Linked DNA regions of Homo sapiens: regions 1, 2, 3, 4, 5 and 6 are each linked to region 7. Evidence: promoter capture Hi-C in human tissues and cell types (Jung and others, 2019). All regions are on one chromosome and are shown on one strand. The core of a region is centred on a gene start or on the middle of the fragment in contact, and the rest is flanking DNA. Distances in the headings are between cores, read along the strand shown.

What was found. The method cuts DNA at HindIII sites, captures the fragments that hold promoters and counts their contacts. A contact is called where the count stands out against the background at its distance.
Region 1: a contact is called between the fragment with the promoter of SCYL1 here and the fragment with the promoter of CAPN1 in region 7, in 1 of the 25 tissues and cell types used here (adrenal gland).
Region 2: a contact is called between a fragment that was not itself captured here and the fragment with the promoter of CAPN1 in region 7, in 1 of the 25 tissues and cell types used here (spleen).
Region 3: a fragment that was not itself captured here is called in contact with the fragment with the promoter of CAPN1 in region 7 in 1 of the 25 tissues and cell types used here (spleen).
Region 4: a contact is called between a fragment that was not itself captured here and the fragment with the promoter of CAPN1 in region 7, in 1 of the 25 tissues and cell types used here (liver).
Region 5: a fragment that was not itself captured here is called in contact with the fragment with the promoter of CAPN1 in region 7 in 2 of the 25 tissues and cell types used here (dorsolateral prefrontal cortex and lymphoblastoid cells).
Region 6: the fragment with the promoter of FAM89B here is called in contact with the fragment with the promoter of CAPN1 in region 7 in 1 of the 25 tissues and cell types used here (lymphoblastoid cells).

What each region holds. Positions count from the first base shown.
Region 1 is chr11:65,522,467-65,526,332 of GRCh38, reverse strand. It overlaps SCYL1 (SCY1 like pseudokinase 1), which reads right to left and starts at 1,250. Exons shown (of 18, transcript NM_020680.4): 1 at 1,069-1,250; 2 at 619-759; 3 at 290-412; 4 at 1-209. The coding sequence starts at 1,179. RefSeq lists a silencer at 903-1,402. The HindIII fragment of the contact is 17,278 bases long and covers 1-3,866 here.
Region 2 is chr11:64,864,119-64,867,431 of GRCh38, reverse strand. The region is part of intron 2 of EHD1 (EH domain containing 1); the gene reads left to right. Among named protein-coding and RNA genes, the nearest start is that of MIR10392, 13 kb to the left of the region's middle. RefSeq lists enhancers at 1,311-1,610, 3,224-3,313. The HindIII fragment of the contact is 8,078 bases long and covers 1-3,313 here.
Region 3 is chr11:65,491,440-65,495,239 of GRCh38, reverse strand. No RefSeq gene overlaps it. Among named protein-coding and RNA genes, the nearest start is that of LINC02736, 5.3 kb to the right of the region's middle. RefSeq lists enhancers at 1,088-1,382, 1,628-1,757, 1,249-1,760, 1,761-2,271, 3,108-3,402 and 1 more, a cis regulatory region at 1,107-1,349 and silencers at 1,088-1,382, 3,077-3,578. The HindIII fragment of the contact is 5,007 bases long and covers 1-3,800 here.
Region 4 is chr11:64,769,953-64,773,567 of GRCh38, reverse strand. It overlaps SF1 (splicing factor 1), which reads left to right. Exons shown (of 13, transcript NM_004630.4): 3 at 63-138; 4 at 3,160-3,312; 5 at 3,515-3,604. Among named protein-coding and RNA genes, the nearest start is that of SF1, 6.8 kb to the left of the region's middle. RefSeq lists an enhancer at 743-832. The HindIII fragment of the contact is 3,620 bases long and covers 350-3,615 here.
Region 5 is chr11:64,892,217-64,895,834 of GRCh38, reverse strand. ATG2A (autophagy related 2A) reads left to right here. Exons shown (of 41, transcript NM_015104.3): 40 at 393-545; 41 at 626-1,289. The coding sequence ends at 862. MIR194-2HG (MIR194-2 host gene) reads left to right here and starts at 2,386. Exons shown (of 3, transcript NR_133640.1): 1 at 2,386-2,424; 2 at 3,009-3,245. The HindIII fragment of the contact is 4,598 bases long and covers 1-3,618 here.
Region 6 is chr11:65,571,288-65,574,967 of GRCh38, reverse strand. FAM89B (family with sequence similarity 89 member B) reads right to left here and starts at 2,430. Exons shown (of 2, transcript NM_001098785.2): 1 at 2,008-2,430; 2 at 778-1,605. The coding sequence starts at 2,298. The coding sequence ends at 1,327. It overlaps ZNRD2 (zinc ribbon domain containing 2), which reads right to left. Exons shown (of 4, transcript NM_006396.3): 4 at 3,080-3,577. The coding sequence ends at 3,234. RefSeq lists silencers at 311-830, 2,110-2,559. The HindIII fragment of the contact is 7,840 bases long and covers 1-3,680 here.
Region 7 is chr11:65,179,533-65,183,177 of GRCh38, reverse strand. CAPN1 (calpain 1) reads right to left here and starts at 1,250. Exons shown (of 22, transcript NM_005186.4): 1 at 1,165-1,250; 2 at 210-477; 3 at 1-50. The coding sequence starts at 476. It overlaps CAPN1-AS1 (CAPN1 antisense RNA 1), which reads left to right and starts at 1,344. Exons shown (of 2, transcript NR_145677.1): 1 at 1,344-1,953; 2 at 2,106-3,307. RefSeq lists enhancers at 1-773, 774-1,563 and silencers at 586-880, 1,482-1,931. The HindIII fragment of the contact is 8,891 bases long and covers 1-3,645 here.

The DNA.
Region 1 (3,866 bases), core at 1-2,500, 340 kb before region 7:
CTGCCACTGCTGTCAGCCAACTCCGGGGGGTCATACTGCTCAAGCTCGGGGATCCCCTTGCGGGGAGGTCCCCCACCGTTGCCCTGGGCCGAATACATGTAGTCCAGGCCCCCAAGCTTCCACTCGCCAGCTCGGTCCACGAACACGGCGGCCATGCAGACATTGTTGTGGATGAGGCTGCAGTCGTTGACCAGGAAGCTGAGGGCTTTCTGGGGGCAAAAGGAGCCATCACGCCCCAGCACCTGCAACCCCCCATCCCTGCTCTCATCACCACTGCCCCCCACCTCACCACGATCTGGTGTAGCCCCCAGGAGATCTCCAGCTCCTTCAGGCCACCAGCCTCCACTCTCGCCTTGAGGTATATTCCCAACGGGGTCACAGCCTCTGTCACGACGTGGAGGCATTTTTCTGTCTGGGGAAGGGGACACAGGGTTATCAAGGGCGGAGGGGCAGAGAGGAAGGAGAGATAAGCGACTTGAAGTTGGGAGAGATGGGGAAGAGGAAACCAAATCTGGGGGTGCTGGGGCACATAGGGTGGAAACAGGGCAGGAGGGGAGACAGGAGTGGGTAACCAGGACATCGTGAGGGGCAGAGACGGGCAGGCAAGGCAGCAGGTACCTCCAGTCCATCGATGTAAGCCAGGATGTTGGGGTGCCGTAGAGTTTTGAAGCGCTTGAAGGCAGCTTTGGCCACCTGGGTCTGCTCTTCCGCGCCAGGCTTCACATCATAGACGAAGATGGACACGGGGCTGCCTGTGGCCTAGGGGAGGGCAGCGGGGCCTGAGATGGTCCCAGAGCTGTTGTGTGGCCGGAAGACAAGGGCCCGCAGCCAGGTCTCTCCCCAGGTCAGCCTTAGGGACACTTCGCCGGGCCCACGTGACCCCGGCCCTGTCCGCCTGTCGGTCCCTCGGTCCCTCCGCCCGCCACGTAGGCACTGCCCGCCCCCTCCCCGGCCTGCTACCCCTTGGTTCCGCCGCCACGTCAGGCCGGGCGCAACGCGACGGGGTCGGCGGCGCGGAATAGGCAAGGCCCAGGTCGACCGCGGCCTACGGAGCTCGGCCGCACTCACCTTCTTGCGGCCGCGGTGCAGGGCCCAGGGCCCGGGCAGGCCGCCCTCTGGGGGCTCCGGGATGAGCTCGAACGGAAAGTCCCGGACCGGGTCCCGGGCAAAGAACCACATCGTCCCCACCGCCGCCGCGGGTTCGGGCGCCTTAGCTCCGGGTCCTCCGGCCGCCCGAGCCGGGGCGGGGCGGAGAGGGGGCGGGGCCTGCGTCAGACGGGGGCGGGGCCCGGGGGCCAGGGCGGGGCCTACGTCGGGGCGGAGCAGGACGTGAATTGGGGCGGGGTGGGGCAGAACCTGAGTTGGGGCGGGAAGGGGCGGGGACAAGGGAGGGGCGGGAGAGGGGCGGGGATGGGGGGGCTAGGGAGGGGCGGGGATGGGGGGGCTAGGGAGGGGCGGGGATGGGGGGGCTAGGGAGGGGCGGGGCAGTCCGGGGCGGCGGGCGGTACTAAGATCAGTACTCCGCCGCCGGGTAAGTCACTTAAAACCCTCCAAGCCTGTGAGCCCTTTTATCTAAAGAGGCCTAAATCCTAAAGGATAATAGAGCCTGCCTTCTAGCGTACTGTAAGGATGAGAGCTTAAGAAGGGACAGAGGGATGGGGAAACCGAGGCAAAAAGGGGGAGAGGTAGAAAGACTGACAGGCATGAGAGGGTGCAGTGAGGAGTGAGGCAGAGACCCAGAGAGGGAGACTGGCCCCACGCCAGACACTCTCTCCCACCAGCAAGTGGGTGCCTCCAGGCTCCGGGGAGGAGTCGGTCCTGGTGAAGTGACCATGAGAGAAGCACGAGGAGACGCCCCAGAGAAAGAGCGTGGGTGAGAGGCAGAGAGTGAATCCAAGGTTCCAAGGAGGTCCAGAACCCCGGGGCAGGGGCGGGCACCCAGGGAATGGAGGAAGGAGAGACTGAGGAGGGAAGAAGAAGTGACCCCAGGAAAGGAGGGAGGGAGAAGGAGCAACTGGGCAGGTCTGGAAGAGGCCAAAGGGCTGGGAGGGGACCCTGCTCTCCTGGGCTCAGCTGCCCGGCTCTCAAGCCAACGGATTGCATCTCTCAGTGCCTGTGTAGACAGCCATGGAGTGGTGTTAGCTCAATCAGCACATCACACTGGTGGGGATCCAGCCCCTGAGCTGTGTAGGAGGGGCTGGACAGGCAGTGGTTCTTCTGCTGGTAGGGTCTCAGGACCCAGGCTTGGGGACAGTGCCTCAACCACAGCTATGGAGCACTGGTGAGATTCTGGGACTGGTTATGAAAAGTCTGGTTGGGATGCCTTTGGGAGATAACTCAAGGGCAGAGATGCCACAGTGAGACGGTGCTGGGTTTCAATCACGGTTCAGCCCCTCATTGGATGTGAGAACTCACACAGTTCCCTTTGGGTGCGTTAGGTCCCCCATCTATAAACTGGGGTGAGGGCCAGGCACAGTGGTTCACGCTTGTAATCTCAGCACTTTGGGAGGCCGAGGCTGGAGGATCACCTGAGGTCAGGAGTTCCAGGTCAGCCTGACCAACATGTTTGAAGGGGGCCTGCCCCTCCACACCTGTGGGTATTTCTCGTCAGGTGGAGACAAGAGACTGAGAAAAGAAATAAGACACAAAGTATAGAGAAAGAACAGTGGGCCCAGGGGACCGGCACACTCAGTATACGAGGACCTGCACCGGCGCTGGTCTCTCAGTTCCCTCAGTATTTACTGATTACTATTTTCACTATCTCTGCAAGGGGACTGCGGCAGAACAGGGTGATGGTGGGAAGAAGGTCAGCAGGAAAACATGTGAGTAAAGGAATCTGCATCATAAATAAGTTCAAGGGAAGGTACTGTGCCCGGATGTGCACGTAGGCTGGATTTATGTTTCTCTTTACCCAAACATCTCAGTGTAGCAAAGAGTAACAGAGCAGTATCACCGCTAGCATATCTCACCTCCAGCCATAGGGCAGTTTTCTCCTATCTCAGAATAGAATGACTGGTGGGCTTTACACCAAGACATTCCATTCCCAGGGACATACGGGAAACAGAGGCCTTCCTCTTATCTCAACCGCAAAGAGATCTTCCTCTTTTACTAATTCTCAGCACAGACCCTTTACGGGTGTCGGGCTGGGGGATGGTAAGGTCTTTCCCTTCCCACAAGGCCATATCAGGCTGTCTCAGTCGGGGAGACAATACCCAGGCTTTCTCGGGCAGAGGTCCCTGTGGCTTTGCACAGTGCATCATGTCCCTGGTTAATAGAGAATGGAGAATGGCGATGACTTTTACCAAGCATACTGCTTGCAAACATATAGTTAACAAGGCACATCCTGCACAGCCCTAAATCCCTTAAACCTTGATTCAATACAGCGCATGTTTCTGTGAGCACAGGGTTGGAACTAAAGTTACAGATTAACAGCATCTCAAAGCAGAAGAATTTTTCTTAGTACAGATCAAAACGGAGTTTCTTATGTCTTCTTTTTTTCTGCATAGACACAGTAACAGTCTGATCTCGCTTCCTTTCCCCCACATATGTGTGGGCGGAGGAATACCTAGGTGCGGAGGCAAGAGATTGAAGGCACAAACTGTTTCAGTATAAAAAAGAAAATAGTTAGAATAAGAATAGTCATAATACAAATTAGATATAGAGATGGTCATGAACAATTATCAATCATTGTTATAAGCATTATTAATCATTAGCTTTTAATATTACTCTTTGTTGCATTACTAATATAACCTAGGAATAACCGGCGGGTATAGGGTCAGGTGCTGAAGGGACATTGTGAGAAGTGACCTAGAAGGCAAGAGGTGAGCCTTCTGTCACGCCCGCATAAGGGCCTCTTGAGGGCTCTT
Region 2 (3,313 bases), core at 547-3,046, 320 kb after region 7:
TTTTTTTTCTTTTGAGACAGAGTCTTGCTCTGTTGCCCAGGCCGAAATGCAGTGGTGCGATCTCAGCTCACTGCAGCCTCTGCCTCCCAAATTCCAGCAGTTCTCCTGCCTCGGCCTCTTGGGTAGCTGGGATTACAGGCGTGTGGCACCATCCCTGGCTAATTTTTGTATTTTTAGTGGAGATGGGGTTTCACCATGTTGGTCAGGCTGGTCTCGAACTCCTGACCTCAGGTGATCAGCCCGCCTTGGCCTCCCAAAGCACTGGGATTACAGGTGTGAGCCACTGCGCCCGGCCTCATTTTAACCACGTTTTTTGGTCATGGACCCCAGAAAAGTAGATTTTAACTATTTGTAGGTGTGCATTTCACTGGCATTTAGCACATTCTTCATTGTTCAGCCGTCACCACCATCCAGCTCCAGAGCTCTTCACTTCCCAAATGGACACTCTTCCTGTTCAACACCAGCTCCCCTCGTGGCTCCCTGCACCCCGCAGCCCCTGCACTCCCCATTCTATATTCCTTTTCTGTGCACTTGATTACTCCTGGTATCTCCTGTCAGTGGAATCCTACAGTGCCGTATCTGTCCTTTTGTGGCAGGATGTTTTAAAAAAACTTTTAGGTTCAGGAGTACATGTACAGGTTTGTTATACAGGTAAATGGAGTGTGGTGGGGTTTGGTGTATAGATTATTTCATCACCCAGGTAATAAGCGTAGTATCTGATAGGTAGTTTTTCTTTTCTTTTTTTTTTTTTGGAGACAGGGTCTCACTCTGTCACCCAGGCTGGGAGTGCAGTGGCACAATCACAGCTCACTGTAGCCTCCACCTCCCGGGCCCAAACAATCCTCTTACCTCAGTGTCCCAAGTAGCTGGGAATACAGATGCATGCCACCACACCCAAATTTTTTTAAATTTTTGTAGAGGGGGGTCTCGCTATGTTACCCAGGCTGGACTCAAGCAGTCCTCCTGCCTCAGCCTCCCAGAGTGCTGCGATTACAAGCGTGAGCCACCATGCCCAGCCTGCTAGGCAGTTTTTCTGTCCTCACCCATTCCACCCTCAAGTAGGCCCTGGTGTCTGTTGTTCTCTTCTTTGTTGCCATGTGTACTCAATGTTTCACACCCATGGATGAGTGAGAACATGCGGTATTTGGTGTGGAACATGCGGTATTTGGTTTTCTATTCTAGTGTTAGTTTGCTGAGGATAATGGTCTCCAGCTCCATCCATGTTGCTGCAAAGGTCATGATCTTGTTCCTTTTTATGGGTGGATAGTATTCTCTGTGGTATATGTACCATGTTTTCTTTATCCAGTCTACTGTTGATGGGTATTTAGGTGGATTCCATCTTTGCTATCGTGAATAGTGCTGCAATGGACGTATGTGTGCATGTGTCCTTATGGCAGAATGATTTCTCTTCCTTAGGGTTTATGCCCAGTAATGTGATTGCTGAGTCGAATGGTAGTTCTGTTTTAAATTCTTTGAGAAATTGCCAAGCTGCTTTTCACAGTGGCTGAACTGGTTTACATTCCCACCAGCAGCGTATAAATGTTCCCTTTTCTCTGCAACCTCACCAGCATCTGTTATTTTTAGACTTTTTAATAATAGCCATTCTGACTGTTATGAGATGTTGTCTCATTGTGGTTTGATTTGCATTTCTCTAATGATTAGTGATGCTGAGAGTTTTTTCATATGCTCGTTGGCCGCGTGTGTGTCATCTTTGGAAAAGGTCACAGACTTATTTCATCACTTAGCATCATGTCTTCTAGGTCCCAGGATTTTCTGAGCTAGAGCTTCCTGGTGGCTTATGATCCCTTATCAGAGGGGGCTCTGGCTTTTACTCACTAAAACCACTCCCTCTGCAGGTGGGCCTTTCTCTCCAGCCCACCCGCTTGGGCCATGTTTTCTGTGTCCTTTTGCTCGGCATCAGTTCTGTCACTCCCACTGGGGCCTGAGCTAGTCAAGCTAACAGCAAGGCCCCTACCTTGGTGGGTGCCAAAGCCTGAAGTCTTGTTGCCTTGGGCAGTGCCGGGGGTGCTGGCAAGCCCTGTTCTGTACTTGATACCGGCCGTCCAGCTCTGATCTAGAGAGTGGCTCAGTGTTACCGCTGTGCAGTGTAGCCTTTGGCACCTCTTGAAACCCGGCGTCTTTTAGGCTGAGTGAGGTGCCTTTGAGGGCAGCGAGGGCCTGGTGGGCTAAGGAGCGCCGGTGGGCCTGGTGGGGCGTGCAGTTACGTGGTCACTGCCTGCATGGCACAGGCCTGAGTGCTGTGGCCCTTTTTGTCACCTGTGGGTGTGGCTGGCCAGTCACTGTGTTTCCCTCACAGCAAAAGCACATTTTCTGTAATAAACAGGAAATTTTAGTCACCTGCAAAGAAATGGGCTTACCTCTGTTGACTCCAGCTTGAGATGACGGCCAGTAACTGGGTTTCAGAGCAGGTGGGGCAGGGCTTCTGGACCTGGGGCAGGGAGTTTTGGAGTGCTCACTCTTCTTTCTTCCTTCCCCTCCTTTTTCTCTCTTTCCCCAGGGCCCCCCAGCCATCCAGGGGGAGGGGGGAGTGGGGCCTTGCTGGGTGGAGTTTGGGAGGGTGACCTCAGCTCCCCAGGCGCCGTCCTGACTCCCAGGCCAAAGCTAACATGGGCTGAGCACAGCCCATCAGGGCGCCCTCATTCCCAAGAACTCGGTTTTGGCATCACAGCCTCCCCAGCTGTGTGAATTCTAGTTTCAGCTTGTGGCGGGCTGAAGACAAATGATTTGACAAGGGGAGAAGCTGGGCCCCCTTTTTGCTGAGCGAGGAACCTCAGTCCTTGAGTCATCGCCTTTTCAGTACTGACCTGCGTTCCCAGAGCTGGCCATAAAAGGCTGTGGGCTGCGGGCCCCAGGCAGGCGCTGCAGGCTTAGCTAGTGTGGCCTCATCCCCCGGGGGCAGAGGCGGCCTCTCCCTGCCCCTGTTTCCCTCATGTTGCCCTTGGCCTCTCTTTCTGGTTTTCTGCCGAGACTTCACTCTTTGGGCATCCTCTCCTGTGGAGCTCAGAGCCAGCTGCAGGGAGTCCGGGTGCCCGGGGCCTTGTACTTTGGAAGCAGGAGCCTGTGGTGGCATGAGGTGCCCTGGCACGATGCCCTTCCACACCTTCTGGGCACAGGGAACCTGGCAGCTCTGCTGTCTCCGACCATCCACCTGAGCCTCTGGAAGGCTGATCGGGCCTCCCCGTCCAGGCTGGAGGCCAGGACCCCGGCTCCCCTGCACTGCTACCCTGTTAAGAAGCTTGGCCCTCGGGGCTGCTTCTGGTCAGAGTGCCCTATTTCCTGTTGAGCTGGGGCA
Region 3 (3,800 bases), core at 969-3,468, 310 kb before region 7:
ACTAAAAATGCAAAAATCAGCCAGGTGTGGTGGCGTGCGCCTGTAATCCCAGCTACTCAGGAGGCTAAGGCACAAGAATCACTTGAACCCGGGAGGCAGCGGTTGTGGTGAGCCGAGATCGTGTCACTGCACTCCAGCCTGGGCGACAGAGCAAGACAACGTCTTTAAAAAAAAAAAAAAAAAAAAAAACTCTAAAAAATGAAATAATAAAAAAAGACAGCCTAAAATTGCCATGTACTTTAGTGAGGAGATTAATAATATATTTGATTATGTGGCCTTCTCAGCACTCTTGGAACTAAGGATCTTTTTAACATAACACTGAATTTTTTCAAGCACCTTTTCTCTGGACTGCGTCTGTGCTCCTTTTAATTTCATAATGTCTGATGGAAGCTGCCCCCTCCACTAGTCCTTTAATATCATGTTTGTTCCCTTTCACTTTAGTCTCAAACCTAGACTTCATTTGGGCCTAAGGACACAAATATAAGAGGGCAAATTTGTTTTAGCCAGTCATCTCATGCTCCCCTCAAAAAAGCCCAGGCTAAAAATAGAATGCCCTTGGTTCTGGTTTCTGGCAATTACTCCACTGACAAACAGCCCTGTGACCTCAGGCACCAACCCAAATAACTTCCCAGTAGCAACTGAGATATGTAAAATGAGAGGATTCCATGCAAGAAGCCATGATGCTGATTCTATAAAATACAGTAAACAAAGGGTTGGGGAGAGGACATGAAAGACTTTAGGCTGGAGCCGGGCGTGGTGGCTCATGCCTGTAATCCCAACACTTTGGGAGGCTGAGGCAGGCGGATCACCAGGTCAAGAGATCGAGACCACCCTGGCCAACATGGTGAAACCCCATCTCTACTAAAAATACAAAAATTAGCTGGGGTGTGGTGGAGGGCACCTGTAGTCCCAGCTACTCGGGAGACTGAGGCAAGAGAATCGCTTGAACCCGAGAGGCAGAGGTTGCAGTGAGCTGAGATGGTGCCACTGCACTCCAGCCTGGCAACAGAGCAAGACTGTCTGAAAAAAAAAGAAAAAGGAAAGATCTTAGGCCTCCTGGCTGTACCTTCGAGAAGGCGGGGTGCTGAAAAGGACTAAAAGGGCAAAAATTTTGCATCCAGCCTCCAAGCATACAGTCAGCAAGGCCCTACCTTAATCCTCCTGACTCAGGCCAGGCCGGAAACCTCCAGAGAATGCCAGAATCCACTCCACCCCTTCCCTGATTGGCAAGTCCAGTCAGGCTTAGTCAAGAGACAAGCTTCTGAGAGATCCGTCATCTACGGCCCTGGAGCCCAGAGGCCGCAGTGGCTGAGTCTTCATGGCACCTGGATTCCTCCCAGGCCTCCTTTGATTTTATCTAATCCTGTAATTTTTTCTTTAATTCTGCATTTCTAGAGCTCTCTAGAAATGCAGGTCAGAAATGAAGGGCAAAGACAGTCCCAAGAAAACAACTTTCTTGGTTTTTGTTTTTTTTTTTTTCCTTGAGACAGTTTTTTGCTCTTGTCACCCAGGCTAGAGTGCAGTGACGGGATCTCAGCTTACTGTAACCTCTGCCTTCCGGGTTCAGGTGATTCTCCTGCTTCAGCCTCCCAAGTAGCTGGGATTGCAAGTGCCTGCCACCATGCCCGGCTAGTTTTCATATTTTTAGTAGAGACAGGGTTTTACCATGTTGGCTAGGCTGGTCTGAAACTCCTGACCTTAAGTGATCCGCCTGTCTCTGCCTCCAAAAGTGCTGGGATTACAGGCATGAACCACCACACCCAGCCCAAACTTTCTTGTTTTCTAAAGATTTTAGGAATTTGCAGTTCCCAATCCCATCCCCTGGCTGCCCACCTTCCCAGAGCCGATTTCTGGAACAATGTGACCTTCCGTAGCTGCTGCACAAACTTAGGCTCCCTCACCTACTGTGACCGCCCCCACAGCAGGAAAAAACCTACAGAGATGATGCAGCTCAGAGCTCTATGATATGGAAGACAGAGCATTGTTTTCTAGGGGGTTTTGGACAGCTAATAATTTACCCTGTAGAACATGTAAAATTATCCCTTGAAACCCAGCAGACAGGCCTGTCACTTCACAGAGAGCTGAGGGCAATTCCAGCAAGAATGAGTTACAGAAACTAGAAGTGGCTGTGTCATTGACCTTCCCAAAATGATATGCGGAAGAGGCAGCTGGGGCCTCTTCCATCACAGCCCTGAATCACCAGGGCAGGAGGGTAGGGGAAACAGATTCTCTCTTCCTGAGACAAGAAAACATCTTCTAAATGTACCCACCTCTACTTCTAGCAAGCATTCCTTGTTAGATAGAATCCTCTTTCGGGGAGGGGAATAAAGGAGAAAGTGTCTTTTTTGTTGTTGTTGTTCTTTCTTAGGAGAAAGTGTCTTAAGAAAGCAATTCCCCACCCCCTGCCTGAGAGTTCCAGGCTCCTAGTTCCTTCCTTGGTCTATTTGCTGCGTAATGTACTTGGCCCTGGGCCCTGAAGCCTATTGGTGGATCCTCCCGAAAGGCCTGGCTGTGGCAGCCCAGCTGTAGCACTGTGGGCTGTAGGAGGACAGATTGACATCGAGGGGCACAACTGGGCTGTCCCCCATGCCTTCCTGGGGGCTGCGTCTGTAGAACCGTCTATCCACTCCATGTGCATCTTTATTTTCTGTAACGTGTATTGAGTGCTGTGCCTCACAACAGCCCTGTGGGGGAGGTGGTGTTGCTTTCCCCTTAGACGGATGAGGAAACTGAGGCAAAGAGCTGTCATTTGCCAGATCACTAGAGCCTGGCACACAGTAGAAGCTCCATGTGTGTCTACTGAGTAATGACTCAATGAATACATTGGAATAGTATCTTTTTTGGAATTTATAACACACACACACACACACACACACACAACCAGAATACTGAAAAGCTCCCACAGGAACAGATCATTCCACAGGAACAGATCATTCCACAGGAACAGAACGGATTTAGACTTGACGTAAATTCGAATGCCCATCAGGATGGAGTGGAATGGGACTGAGCTAGCTGTACTGCGTGGGAAACTGGGAACTGCTTTGCTCTGGAGGTCTGTTCAGAACTTCTGAACCAACTGCCATCCACAGAGACAGGGGAGAAAACCCAGAGGCCACCTGTGGTTTCCATGCAGCTCTGATGGAGCATTCACCCCTCTACCTCCTACCCGCCCCCTGCCCAGTGCAGGGTAGTGAGCCCGGCTCAGCCCTTGCTGTCCTTGCCCCATGATGAGTCACCGCGGGAGACGCCTGCTGAGTGAACCTTCCCAAGTGGCCTGAAGGAACAATGAAGCTCTCAGGGAGTCGCAGCCGCGTTCTTGTGTCCCTGATCTTTTCAGTCATGCTTCAGGTCCCTGGCAGATGTTTGTATTGGCCTGGCACACCCAGCATGAAGCTGATTAAACATCCTCCATGAGCATGCTCACACACACACACACACACACACACGTATATTCATTCTTCCTCATGCAAGTGTGGCCCACATCCCACAGACACACATCTCCTGGGACAAGGGGGTAGCGGCCACAAGGTTTCAGGCACTTTGTCGGGGTGTGTTTCTCAACAATGCCGGATTAAAACAGAAGCCCGCAGAATGACAGGGCCTTCTCCTGAACTGGTAATAGTGGATCAGAGCCACCCAGTGTTTGAGTGGAATAAACCTCTAGGTAGCAAGTTCCCATTCCCACAGGTATCCTCTGGAAGCTGGGTGACCTTCCTAGGGTTCCGCAGTATCCCTGCATTGCGAAGAAGCTGGTCAAGAAAACTTGAGATTTTTCTTCCAATCCTGAAAATCCATAATTC
Region 4 (3,615 bases), core at 910-3,409, 410 kb after region 7:
TTTATTGGTAACATTGTCTTTTTTCCATCCTTTTTTTTCTTTCCTAACCTGGTTTCTTCCAGTGCAACTGCAGATAGAAGACCTGACTCGTAAACTGCGCACAGGAGACCTGGGCATCCCCCCTAACCCTGAGGACAGGTTGGGAAACAGTTTTAACCAGCTGACAGTAACGCTTTTACCTTTTTCTCAATACGTTTTACTGGTGGCAACATATTGTGTCAGTTCAATAAAATCATAGTATGACGACTGTACCCTGACCACTTTGGGGATTAAGGTTTAATTAGAAATATGTATGGTCAGTCAACAGTTAGAAAATTGGAATAAAACTTAAAAATGTTGGGAGAATAAAAAGTTACAGGAAAATGGACAACTGGTTTCCAATTGGTAAGCATGTAGATCTTAACCTGATTTACCCACCCTTAGGGGACAGTGAGGTGGCCCGTTAACCTGCCTTTTCAGTACCTGCTTTGGCCAAAAGCCCAGGGCATAGAGTTTTTCTCACAGGTACACAGTGCAGGGACTAAAAATATTTTTGAGCATCACTGAACTTGAGCAAGCCAGGAGCTCTGGTCAGCTCATTGCTGCAGTCTTCCTGCTCATGGTTTTGAGATGGTTTCAAAATCAGATGAGATTTCTAACCAACTTCTTTCACTGCCAGTTAACTTTCAGCCTTGGCCATTGCCTTGGGGGTGTTGGGAGGGGCCAGAATATTCTCACCTATTTTGGGAAGGCATGCAACCAACCCTAAATTACTTTTTTTTTTTCCTTAAAGGGAGCGTGGGCCTCAAACAGCTGTGGTCATGTCATTTCAGTTTGCAGTTTCTCTCACCTCAGAAAAATAAATTGTGTGGGGGAGATGAACTTTTTTAAACTGGAATTTTATTAGCTGATTGAACAGCTAAAATTGGTCATTTAATTAGAAGGGCAGTAAGTCTCTCCCTCTCACTGAATTTTCTCTTAGTACATACAGAATAGTTGAAAAGACTTTGCTTTAAAAAGTAGTGTTTTTGGTTTTTGTTACCCAGTTAATAGCTTATTAAATCAGGAAGATGATGTAATGGCTTTAGAAGTCACTCACTCATGCATCTTTCTTCCGCCCTTTGCCAGGAAACATTAACTTCCTTGTTTCTCCATATTGACTCTTTAATTTGACTTACTACATTTGCTATATTTTACCTATAGATAGATTTTGGTTGTAGGGTTGTGTTGTGTTTCGTTTCTTTTTGAAGATTTTTTTTTTTTTTAAATTTACATTGTAGGTCATAGACCACAACTGTTTAGTGCCTTTTTGGCCTTTTTCCCTTTAATAATATGTCTACAGGTCACCAGTCAATTCCTCCAAAGGTTGAATTTTTAACAAACCTTCTTTGCTTCCTGGATAACTGGGATTAGAATTTAGTTGATCTAGCCGATGCCTGTTGGAGGTGAAGAAGTCGGGCCAGTCTAACCTCTAGAATACTAGCTTTTGCCTTTCACTTCTGCAATTTGGGAGGAGGTTAAACTGTTGTGAGGCCTTCACATGGCCAATTGGGTGCTGGTAAGACTTGTTTTTGTAACTAGCTAAGAATGCTTAATTCTAGACAGCTGTGGGGTGGGAATTAGAAATGTCAAGCATGTTAGAAATAAAACCAGAGCAGGGTTTTTCCTCCCTTCTATTCAGTTTTGAAAGAGGCCCTAATGCCTGATTGGTTTTGCTTTTGAGCCCAGGTTGGAGGGAAATGCATGGGTTTTCTTAATTAAGATAATTTCTTAAAAAGGTGTTATATCACTTAAGCCACTTTATTGTTATTTTGATGCTGCTTAACTTGCACAGTAAAAACATGTTTAAAACTTTTCTTGTAGACTTAAATGTATAAGATGGTAGTCTAATGAGCTGGGGTATGTTTGCTTTTGTTCACTCTTAATGGATTGTGCTAACAGTTTATACAAATGCTAGAAACGGAGGTGTCATTTAGCCGTCATTAGCCATGAACAAACCTGACCTTTTATTCCATCGTGTGTGTAACGTGGTGTGACATGGTTCCCTTTAGGCTGAAGACAGTGGGAGCAGCCGAGTTCAGTCCTTGCTCTCCAACTAGGCAAGGTTCTCTCAACTAAACCAAGGGTATAGGAGTCTTGATTACTTTCAGTATGTTTTTTTAATAACCTGATCCACATGGTCTCTTCCCTTCTTGCAGCTGCTACTAAATTTTCATTCAGAATATCAAGCTATGGTCCTTTTTGTAATCTTAACTCAAAATTCTAGGAGTGTAACCTCTCTTTTTTATTACCGCAAAATCCAGCTGTGGTAAACTGACCATTTTATCATTACATTTTTTTACTTGTAGCAACAGCATTTTACTCCTTAAAAAAATGAGAGAGAGAAAATCTGCTTTCTGGACTTGTAAACTCTGGTGGAGAATCATAGGTTTTCCCCTTGCTGTTTGCAGGTTCAGACCCTAGACAAGTATGACCAAATCTGCATTTGCAGCCTCTCGCAGAAGCTGCTTTAGCACTTTAACGTTTTTCTCTACCCAGACTCCCCAACCTCGAACAGCCAGAAAACAGGTTGTCTCCTGGGCCTTGGACACAGCCAGCCAGGCCATTGAAGGAAAAGCAAAGACGAAGCGAACCATCTCTCTCCATTGTGGGGGCCAAGTAGCTGCAGTAGCCTTCAGTCCCAGTTGCATTGGGTTAAAGAGCTCATACATACTATGTGTTAGGGGTACAGAAGCTTTTCCTCATAGGGCATGAGCTCTCCAAGAGTTAACCTTTTGCCTAAACTTGGGGTTTCTGTGGTTCATAAAGTTGGGATATGTATTTTTTTTCAAATGGAAGAAAATCCGTATTTGGCAAGAAGACTCCAGGGGATGATACTGTCCTTGCCACTTACAGTCCAAAGATTTTCCCCAAAGAATAGACATTTTTTCCTCTCATCACTTCTAGATGCAAAATCTTTTATTTTTTTCCTTTCTCACACACACCCCAGACCCCTAACGTTAAGCCAGCTTCCATCTCCCCATTCCACACGATCTTGAGTAGCACACGTTATGGTCGGTTCCTCCGAAGAGTGTTGTATTAGGGTCTGAGAGGCAGAGGGGCTGGGAAAGACTTGTTATAGTCCGTGTGGGAATGAGAGAAGTCGGTGCAGAATAGTAAACGGGAGTCTGTTTCCCACAGGTCCCCTTCCCCTGAGCCCATCTACAATAGCGAGGGGAAGCGGCTTAACACCCGAGAGTTCCGCACCCGCAAAAAGCTGGAAGAGGAGCGGCACAACCTCATCACAGAGATGGTTGCACTCAATCCGGATTTCAAGCCACCTGCAGATTACAAGTAAGCGGAGGGGCTCGGTCATCTGGGATGAAGACACATGCAGATCATGGGTGACCTGCTGGGATGGGACAGTATTGGTACTACTCACCTCTTGCCTCAAGTCACCCATAATTAGCACTTGGTACCAATATTTGGTTTTAGAAAAGCCGCTGGCTGTGTCATTCTCCAGAAATGTGCGGTGACACAGGCTTTTCTTTCTTAGACCTCCAGCAACACGTGTGAGTGATAAAGTCATGATTCCACAAGATGAGTACCCAGAAATCAACTTTGTGGGGCTGCTCATCGGGCCCAGGTGAGTAACTG
Region 5 (3,618 bases), core at 453-2,952, 290 kb after region 7:
CAGACAGAAGGAAGGATGGGCCTCTGACCATCTGGCAGGGGCGTCTGGGGGGCCAGGCAAGGAGCGGTCAGTCTCAGGCGTGCAGCTGCGGCAGCCATGTGGAACCTGCTGAATGTGGTGGTCAGCAGGAAGAGAGGTTTGGGTTGAGAAGACTTTAGGAAAGTCCCCTGAGGAGTCCCACGTTCCTAGGTTCCCTCAGCAGAGTGGCAGGTGCCTAGGAAGGGGAGGAAGAGTGGGAGGAAGTGGGGAGTGAGGCTGAGCAGGACCCCCTAGGCCAGCACAGTGACAGGCAGGGAGGCTGAGGGCTGGTGGGGTCTCAGACTGTCCTGGGGGCCTGGGGCTGACGTGTGCCCCAGCCAGCTGTCCTCATCCAGTGCTCCCATGTCCCCCAGGCCACAGCTGAGACCGTGTATGACATCCTGTCCCCGGCAGCCCCCGTCTCCCGCTCCCTGCAGGATAAGCGCTCTGCGCGGAGGCTGCGCAGGGGCCAGCAGCCTGCCGACCTGCGGGAGGGTGTGGCCAAGGCCTACGACACAGTGCGAGAGGTGACCAGGCCCCCGCCCTGCCCCAGTCCCCCATGCCCATCTCCTCACACAGACCCCGCCCTGACCTCTGGCTTCCACAGGGCATCTTGGATACAGCTCAGACCATCTGTGACGTGGCATCGCGGGGCCATGAGCAGAAGGGGCTGACGGGCGCCGTGGGGGGCGTGATCCGCCAGCTGCCCCCGACTGTGGTGAAGCCGCTCATCCTGGCCACGGAGGCCACGTCCAGCCTGCTCGGGGGCATGCGCAACCAGATTGTCCCCGACGCCCACAAGGACCACGCCCTCAAGTGGCGCTCGGACAGTGCCCAAGACTGAGCCTGGGGTGCCCGGCACCCAGAGGGTGCTGCCCACCATGCTCCTGAGCCTCCCAAGAGCTGCAGCCCACGGGCCCGGCCCGGCCTGGCCCTTCAGGGGATGGCCACTGTGAAGGACGCCTTCCCAGCCTGCCCGTTGCCAATCTGCTGTGAGAGGGGGGCCTCCCTGCCTTGGGGCCTTAGCCCTGGCTCTGCACTTTTCCTCCGGGGAGAAAGGACACTGCCCCTCCCCCGACCTGGGCCCACACTGCTGCCTTCTCCCAGGACGGAGGCTTTTGGACCCTCGGACCCCATCCCACTCAGCCAAGTGTCTTTCTGTGTCTGGGGGGAGGAGGGGATGATATCCGTGTGGTTCGATGTATTATTTTTAAGCTCCGTGAGTGCGTGGGTCAGTGTCTGCATGAAGTGGAATAAACTGCCCACCGCCAGCCCCCCTCTCAGATCCTCTGTCCCTGTGAACCCTGGCCTCAGCCTTGACCTTGGCCCCGCCCCAGATCCCACCTCTGCACCCAGCACCTCCCATGTCACCACCAGGGGTCGCCATGCCTCCTGGCCTTGCCCAGCAGATCAGGGCACAGGGGGACCCAGAGGCACCCAGCCCTGCACGCCTTCCCCTGGCTCTGGGCTCTGCCTTGCCCCTCCCAGGAGGCTGCCACTCCAGCCCCACTCCTGATGTGGCAGGAGCTACGTGGGGCTGCCAGGGGAGGGAGGGATGGTCCTTGGAGCCCAGCTGACCCTGCCTGGTTGTCACTTGAGGCCACTCGGGGAAGGCTGAGCCTGAGGCATTCTAGATGTTGCTCTCACCATCCCTAGTGGGGGCTTTTGGGGTGGCCCAGGCCTTGGCCCCTTGGTTTCCACTCTGATCTGGGGTCCCAGCTCCAGCACTTGGAGGGGGGAGGGGTGCTGGAGCAGCGCTGCAGCCGGAATCCCAACCCTCACTGCACAAAGCTTTACACAGGACCAGGGAGCGCCCATTGCCCCCCACACATCTTGTTTCTTGTGAGCTGCTCCCATCGCGCTCCTCCCTGCCCTGCTTCCCAGTGGCGCTGCACAGAGGTGGGTGGGTCCATGGGGAAACCAAGGCTCGGGTTGGGAATCAGGGAACCCTCACCTTGCTAGGTTCCGCAGGCCTCTGGGGTTAGCAAAGGTCCCCCAGCCCTGCTCTGTGGCCCCTTCTGAGTGGGGGAGATCTGGGTACTGGGAACAGAGCAGAAGCTTTGTCCCGAGGGACCCTGGGGTCCTGGCTGCCCACGGACAGCTGGGGCAGCAGGCTGGTAAGAGACCAGGAGGGCGAGGCCCTGGAGGAGACAGGGCTGTGGAGACTCGGTGCTGATGCCACCCGGAGAGGCAGATGGGGCCCAGCCTGATGCTTCCTGGACCCGCCCCACCCTGCCCGGGCACAGTCCAGGGCTTCCTGCCCTTCGAACCGCACTTGTGATCAGTATTGACGGTGGTGGGATAATCATTAACCACCACCAGGGGCTGGGTCAACGGCTCAAAAGGCCCTGGGCCCAGGGTGTCCCCACTTCCTCCTTGTGCCCCGAAGGCCAGCCCGGCACTCAGGTAAGAGGCTTCCTGAGTGGTAGGACCCCTGCCGCCCTCCCTGTCCTAGGAGGCTCCTGAACCCAGGCACCTCTCTGAAGGGTGGCCAATCCTGAGGAAGAAAGGGACCTGGACAGCCATGGGGTGGCCGGGACGAGCCCCTTCCTCTCTGTGCCTTGGTTTCCACTGTGGGATAAGGGGGCCTTAGCATCAGCGCTCAGAGCTGTGGAGCCAGGATTCCTGATCGGGCGCTGTCTCTGCCAGGCCAGGGCACTTGGACACCACGCTGCAGGAGGCTGGTCTCGCCCAGGCCTCTGTGGGAAGGGCCGCCAGGCTGAGTGGAGGGCCAGCCACCAGCTACGGTGTCTTCCTTCGCAGGTCTGTCCCCCCAGGCAGAAGGATTCCAGCCCAGGGATCCCCCATCCCACCCTGACTGCATCCTGAGAAGGGGGGACGCCACTTCGGGAAGGTTGTTGGGGCAGCACAGGCCCTGGGGCCCTGCTCTGTGACCTTGGGCGGCCCCCTCTGTCTCTCTAGGCCTGTATGCACCACTGGCAAAGGGGGCAGGGCCCAAGTCTACTCTAAAAGCTCCCCTTTCTCTCCAGAAGCTTTGGAGTCTCCCAAAATGCCTGCTGGGTCTCTGCAGGACTGGCACCTGTCACCGGAACCTGTCTGGGAGGGACGAGAACACGCTTTGCAAGAGGAAGCTCTGCCTCACAGAGCCCTGGGCTCACTCAGGGACCCTGGCCAGCAGCTGCTTCCTCTCCCCACAGCGGAGAGAGACCCAAGGGTCCCAGGGCGGATGCTTCCCACCAGGCCAGCCCAGCGTGCAGGGTGGCCTCGTAAGTCCTGATTGACATATGGACAGTGGTTCAGAGAGGTTACGCTACTTGCTCAAGGTCACCCAGCTCCCAGGCCCCTGCTGTCTTCCAGGCCACTGAGGTCCTAAGCGTCCTTCCAGGCGAGCCACTGCTCACAGCCTGTTCCTCATGTTCTGCGGCAGGTTTGTGTATCTACATCTTTTCCAGTTCCCTGTCGTCCCCCTTCCTACACCTCGTCATCCACTATCCCTGTTTGTTTTCTCTGTTCCTTTCTAGTTCTCTACCTGCTCCTCTTATTTTTATTTGAGACAGGGTCTTTCTTTGTCACTGAGGCTGGAGTGCAGTGGCACAATCCCAGCTCACTGGAGCCTCGACCTCCCAGGCTCAAGTGATC
Region 6 (3,680 bases), core at 1,181-3,680, 390 kb before region 7:
TGAGGTGTCGTGTGCGCGTGTAGGGGGCTGAGTACCCACTGTCTCCGAACGTGCTGGCTTCTTCCGGTGGGCTTGACAACTGGGTTTGGTTCTCAGTCCCAGCGGTGTGGGTCCCCGGTTTCCTAAGAAACCTTCCACAGATAACTGTAAAGACCGCTAGTGCTGTGGGGAGAGCCGGCGGTCTTCACAGACTGAGCGGGGAATACGGGTCCCTGGAACCCCAATCAAACTTCACCGCCGCGGAGTCTCATGCTTGGCCTCCGGGAAGGCCCGAGGTGCCGCGACTTCACTCCCCTCGGCCTCTGCCACCCCTCCCTCCCACCCGCGGGGCGTGAGGTCCCAGGCCGTTCCCGGAGGCGCCTCCCCCGCCCCCGCCGGGGCCCCTTGCTCCGGCGACTCCGGCCACCCATTTCCTGCGCCGCCTCAACCCCGCCCCGCGCGGGGTGGAAAGTTTCCCTCCTCAAGGTGGGCGGCTCCTTCTCCTTCCTTCCCGGCAGGCAGGGAAAGCCCGAAGCGAACTGGGAGGAGGGAGCGGGGGACTCGGAGGTCGCGGGCGAGAGAGGGGAAGTGACTCGACCGCAGTCACCCGGCGGCTGAGCCAGGCTCGGCCAGCAGGCAGCGCCCCCAGCCCCGCCCCGGCGGGACGGCAGGGCCTTCACTCGGCGCGGGGCGGGGGGGGAGGGGGTCTCGGGCGCCACCTGCTGGCAGAGCGCGGGGCCGCACCTGCCACAAACACCGCGGTCTTCCCGCCCCAGAGCCAGCCAGGCAGAGCACAACGACGCTGAGTGTATTTATTTATCTACGCGCCCTGGAGACCGGCCCCTAAATTTAAATATCCAGCACGGGGCCTTGGCCCTCCTGGCCGTGGGTGGTTATTGGGACGGGTCCTGGAGCCCTTCCAGGGCAGAGGAACCCAGAGCCCGGAGGTGGGATGCCCCTGAGCCAGCAGCTGCCGATAGCAACAAAAGGTGAGGAGGAGATGGGAGCCAGGCACTCATCCCAATCCCAGAGACGCCAAGCGGAAGGGAAGATGCTTCGGGCCCCACCGCAAGGCTGAGGGTTGGCCAAGCTGGGGGTGCACACATGTGGAAGAACTGGAGGCCCAGTGCCATGAGCAGAGGCTGTACCCTAGATGCCCGCCCCAGTGCCAGCCAACCCAAGACAGGAGAAAGAGTTTGGCAGTTTCGCCTCTGAGGAATACATGCCTGGCCCTCCTGTGAGGTGAGGCGGTAGGGGGGAAGGCGCAGGCTCCGAAGTCTGAGGGCTTGCCGGAGGGGGAGTTTCTGAGCCTTTTGCATGGGTGCATGCCCCCTGCCCCCCAGCCCTTCAGAGGCTGATGTGGAAGGCATCCTGCAGCCACTGGTCACGGGCATTGTGCGTCTGGGGCACAGTAAGGGGTGGCGGGTCAGGAGGCAGGCTGGCATCGGGAGGCTCCTCGTCGTCAGACAGGCCCGCATCCGGTGGGTAGGAGCTGTCCGAATGGAGGGAGGATGACAGGTCCTGGCAGAAGCTCAGGTCTTGGCACAGGTGTTTGTAGTCCTGGATTGACTCGTACAGGCCCCACAGCTGGCACAACAAGGACATGTCCAACTGCCGCAGCCCCACCTGCAGACAACTGAGGGTGGGCTGGAGTTGGGGTCCAGGCCACCCCAGCCCAGCCCCGCCCCCTGGAATAGTGGGCCCCAGCCCATCTTCCCCGCACCTTCCTAAACGAAGTTTTTGTGGACATCAGGCACCACCTGCAAGCTATGCAACTTTAGTCATGACCCTCACCCAAAAAATGGGGTTATCCATTTAGCCGGATGAAATGAAGTAACGTCAGCAAAACATTTGAAAATATATGGTAACTACTGCCATAATTGGTAACTATCACTAATTATTGTTACCATAACCCTTGCAACCCAACTGGTGCCTGCAAGTCCTCTGAGACCCAGGCCGCCTGTCCCAGTCCCCTGCGTTCCTCCGCGTCAGCCCCCCGCCCAGCTGGCCCGGCGCCCACCCACTCACCATCTCCTTGCGCAGCGCGGCCAGCGCTGAGTCGAGGTTGACAGGACGACGCGGGCCGGCTGCGGGTCCCGCGTTGGCGGCGCCGGCGGCGTGGCGGGGCCCGTCCGGGGCGCGGGCGGCGCGGCTCAGCTCGTCGTGGATGCGGCTGCGCTGGCTGTAGACGCGCTCCAGCTCCCGCCACGAGCCCCCGCTCGCATTAAGGAGGCCGCTGAGGCCGCGCGGCAGCGGTGGGAGCCCGGCCAAAGCGCAGCCCGCCCCGCCCGGCGCCTCTGCCGAGGGCAGCCCGTTCATGGCCGGGGCCGGCGCGGACGGCGATGCCACCTCCTTCCCTCCAACGCTCCGCCCGGGCCGCCGCCCGCAGGCCCCGCACCCCGCGGCCCCGCCGGAGCCCAGCCGCCGCCCGCAGGCCTCGCTTTGTTCCTTCCCCAGCTCCTCAGACTCCGCCTCTGCCCCACCCCCTCTGGATGGGCCGGGCCTCTCTTAAAAAGGCAACGGTTGTGGGACCACGTCGCGCAAAGCTGAGAAAAGGCAACGGGACATCCACTCACTCAAGGGGAGATGGAAAAATGCGGCGGAGGGGGGAAAAGGCTGAAGGGGGCAGGCGTGGTTTCTTCACGGTTCTTTTTGCTACCCCGTCTCCCCGCCGCGCCCCGCCCCGCCCCCACACCCAAGGAAAATGATCTAACAGTGGAGTCAGGAGACTGGCAAGTCCACACTTGGTGCCTAACGTGCCACCTGACGCTGGGGTCACCACAAACTCCTGTCGGTGTCTGAGTACCTGGGGTGGGCATGAGATGGGATAGGCTGATAGGGTCAGGATGCTCAGGGGAAGGAGGGGAATCTATCAAGGGGATCGGAACACAAAACCTCACTTCCAGGTGGGGAATGGACACCAGATGGCGGAAGAGGCTGCAGAGGTGCTGCCAGAGACAAGGCTAGGGTCCACCCCTCTGGCTGCTACCTTTGAAAAGGCTATGGCTTCTTCCTTAGAAAAGGGGCATCACATAGTCCTCTACCTACTCCCTCATCCTGACTGGGGAAACTGAGAAGAAACAAGCTCAACTCATCTCAGGGCGTCAAGGAGAGCAGAGTGGAGAGGTGAAGAGGCCAAAAGCTGGAAAAAGGTGAGTGGAGCTGGGGCTGGCATGCACACTTGGAACCAGGAAAAAAACAAACCACACAGAGGAACAGCTGTTTTTCTAGAGGGTTTTTCTCAGGGGCTTCTCTTAGTGCTGTAGCTGCTGCAGGCTGCGCAGGGCCTCCGCACATGCGCGGATAAGGCCACACAGCTGGATGCTAGTCTCCAGGGAGGTGCTAGAGCCCAGTTCAGCAGAGGCCCAGGTCAGCTTCTGCAAGAGGGCTGTCTGTGTGCAGGCCATGACATCTGTATTTGGAGGCACAGCAGGAGCAGGTGGCCCCTGGGCTGCCTTGAGTCCTGCTGCAGCTCCCTCACAGTGCTCCGGACGAGGTACTGGGGGCTGGGGCGCAGGTCGAGAGCCCAGGGGGAGCTCTGAGGCTGAGGCCAGCTGGTGCTCCCGAGCTTGGGAGAGGGCAGCCTGGGCATTCAGAGCTAAAAAGAGGAGAAAGTGGGTGGAATGGTCAGGATGCCTGGCCCACCTCAGCCCTGAGCCATCTCCTTTTCTGCTCTGCTCTTTCTGTGCTTGAGGTGTTTT
Region 7 (3,645 bases), core at 1-2,500:
TCTGTGCGGGTAGCTCCATCCACAATGAACTGGGGGTTTGACAGCAGTTCCTACGAGAGACCCAGAGTCCTGTTCCTCGGCCAGCCCCTCCCAGAAATTGGCACCAGGCCACCCCAGACCCCATTCCCCACCAGGGACATGGAGTCCCATCCCTACTCCTCATCCAGGATCTGGCTTAGCCGAGTCCCACCCAGGATGGCCCCTCTCACCGTGGGACGCTTCCACTTGATGCCATAGGTCTTGGAGGAATTGGGACCCAGGTCCTTGTAACCCAGGCTCTGGGGTACCGGGGGGAAGGCCTCATCACGGAAGAGGGTCCCACTCTGCAGGCATCGCACCCGCAGCTGCTCATAATCCTGGCCCAGGTACTTGATGGCATTCTCATGGCGGCCCAGGCCCAGCTCCCTGGCCCGCTGCTTCTGCACTTGGGCTGACACCCCAGTGCAGTACACCGGCGTGATGATCTCCTCCGACATCCTGCCGGACAGATGGGCCTGCTCAGAACCCAGGCCTTCCCAAGACTAGAACCTGGGCTCCTGCCTGCAAGCTCTGCTCTCCTGCCCCTGCTTATCCATCCCCAAACCTAGGGTTTCCCTGCCTCACTGCTCCCCTCACAGAAGTAGGGTTCTCAGCCACCTCCCGGTGCTCCCAGTGAATCCAGGAAAGGGATTTCCCAGTTCCCAGGCGTGCCGGCCACCTCTCCTTTCCCGGATCCCATTGTCAGGGGCTTGCAGCTCTGTAGTGAGCCAGCAGGTCAGGTGGGGCAGGGCGGAGCCTCCAGACAGCACAAGGAACTGGGCAGGTGGGACACAGCAGGGAAGGCCTCTTTGATCCTGTTCACAGGCCTGCAACCCCCTCCCCAAACTAACCAAGCTCCTGGTGCACCGGCCCCTTGCCGTGGGCTGAAAACCCCAGACGGTCGGGGTCCCCCTCCTCAGGCCCCCGCAGCAGGCTCGATATCAGAGCTGGTGGGCCCTAGCCCAGCCCCTGGGGACAGCGGTGAGCCAGGCTGGGACAGGCGCCTGGGCTGTGCCGCTCCGCCAGCCCCCACCCCTGCTCCAGGAACGCAGAGGCCCCCGAGAAGGGACCGTGCTGGGGCAGCCCCTCAGCCCAGGAGCAGTGGCCAGGGTCAAGGAATCCCGGCTCGGCTACCCAGCTTCTTACCTGGGGGAGGGGTGTTTGGGGGTCGCTGCAGTCCCTGAGGCTGGCTTCCCGGTGGCAGCTCAGGGCAGGGCCCAACCAGGAAGAGCGCTCCTCCCCGCCCTCCTCCCGCCGCCCCTCCGCCCTCCGCCCTCCCTCTCTCCTTCTCCTCCTCCTCCTCCTGGGGCTCCTACCCCGCTTCCTCTCGGCTCTCCCTTATCTCTCCGGCACGGTCTCTGACTATCTCTTACTCACGGTGTCTCCCCGCCCCTCCCTCCGCAGGCCGGGGGCCAATTCCGCGAGAGGACAAATTAGTAAAAGGCAGAGCAGTCCCCGGGGAGGGGCCAGCGCGGGGGGGGATGGGGGGGCTGGGGCGCGGCGGAAGGGCACCGCGGGGAACGGAGGGGGAGGGCCGGGCAGGGGGTATTTTTAACCAGGGGCAGCAGCTCGAGTTGCAGGGCCGGACGGCCGCACCCCACGCGCGCCCTGGCGGGCATTCCGGGGCGATTGTGCGGCGGCGCCGCCTCCCGCAGCCCCGGGCCCGCCCGGTCCCCAGCTCCCCTCGCTCCGCGCGACCGCAGCTGCTCCCGCCGTTCCCAGCCAGCCCCGGCGCGGGGCCGAGATTACCTCGGGCTGCGGCAGCTGCTCTGAGGAGGGGCCGGGCTGGCAGCGAGCAGACCCCTGCCGGACACTCAGCAAACGGCAGCCTCACCCCGCAGGGCCGCGCCACTCCCCTTCCCCACCCCACCGCCGCGTCCCGGCTCAGCGCTCCCCGGGGAACGCAGGGGGACCGGGCTCGCTGCGTGACCTTGGGTAAGTCCCTGCCCCGTTCGGCCCGACTTTCCGCATGCGTGCATCCTATGGGATGGGGTTGGGCAATTGTGGGAGCCCATCTTTCTCTAACGTTCTGGGGTTTCTTGAACCTGGAAACTTAGAGAGGTGGACATCCCTGTTCTCTCCCCCAGGCTCTCAGCCCACCCACCTGGAAGCGCCCATGTGTCACCTTACCCAGGAGAGGGCGGCAGAGGCTGCGAGCAGGACGGCAGCCCCCTCTCCCCACCCCCAGGACCCTGAGATCCTGCTTCACGGGCTGCAAGAAGTTGGGGGGCCAGGATTCGGCGCGGAGGCCGGGGGTGTGGGTGGGGAGACTGCAGAGACTCCCGAGACCCCCCCAAGTCAGGGCTTTTCGCTGGTCTCGCAGCCCCAGCCCAGCAGCTGCTGCAGTCTTGCATGTTGTGGATGCAAGCATTTTGCTGAGGAAACTGCATAGCGTTCCCAGGACTCTAGGGCCCACGACCCCTCAAAAGTTAAGAGCCGCTGATCTAATCTAACCCCACTTTCACCCTCAGTTAACAAAAGAGGAAAACTGAGGCCTGAGAGGGTGTGACTTGCCTGAAATACCTAACCTGGTGAGTGATGGGTGGAACCAGCTCCTAGGCTTTCTGCGCAGGTGTCCAGGGACAGAGAAGGGTGGTTTAAACTAGAGAGGTGGCAGGCAGAAGTAGATGGATTTGATAACTATTTAGGATACACCATCAAAATTTAACTCAAACTGGATTACACACCTAAATATAAATGGCCAAACCATAAAACTTTTTTTTTTAAAAATGGAGACAATCTTAACAATATTGGGTTTGAAAAGATTTCTTTTTTCTTTTCTAAAGGCAGGGTCTTGCTTTCATTGACCAGGCAGGAGTGCAGTGCCCTGATCACAGCTCACTGTAACTTTAAACTCCTGGGCTCAAGAGATCCTCTCACCTCAGCCTCCTGAGTAGCTGAGACTACAGGCACGTGCCACGACACACAGCTAATTTTTAAATTTTTTGTAGAAATGGGGTCCTGCTGTGTTACTCAGGCTGGTCATGAACTCCTGGGCTCAAGCAGTCCTCCTGCCTGAGCCTCCCAAAGTGCTGGGATTACAGGTGTGAGCTTTGGCACCTGGCCAGATTTCTTAAATATGACACAAAAAGTGTAAATGATAGAAGAAATCAATAAATTGAACTTCATCAAAATAAAACGCTTTTGTTTCTCAAAATGCACGAAACTATTAAAAATGAAAAGATAAGCCATAGACTAGGACGAATATTTGTAAAAATTCTATCTGATGTAGGACTTGTATAAAGAACTTTTACAATTGAATAAAAATCCAATAAAAATGGACAAAACATTTGTTTGTTTTCTGGTGTTTGTTTTTGTTTTTGAGATGGAGTCCCGCTCCATCACCCAGGTTGGAATGCAGTGGCGCGATCCTGGCTCACTGCAACCTCCACCTCCTGGGTTCAAGCAATTCTCCTGCCTCAGCCTCCCCAGTAGCTGGGATTACAGGCGCCCGCCACCACACCAGGCTAATTTTTGTATTTTTAGTAGAGACAGGGTTTCACCATGTTAGCCAAGCTGGTCTCAAACTCCTGACCTCAAGTGATCTGCACGCCTCTGCCTCCCAAGGTGCTGGGATTACAGGGTGAGCCACCGCGCCTGTCAAAAAATGGACAAAACATTTGAACA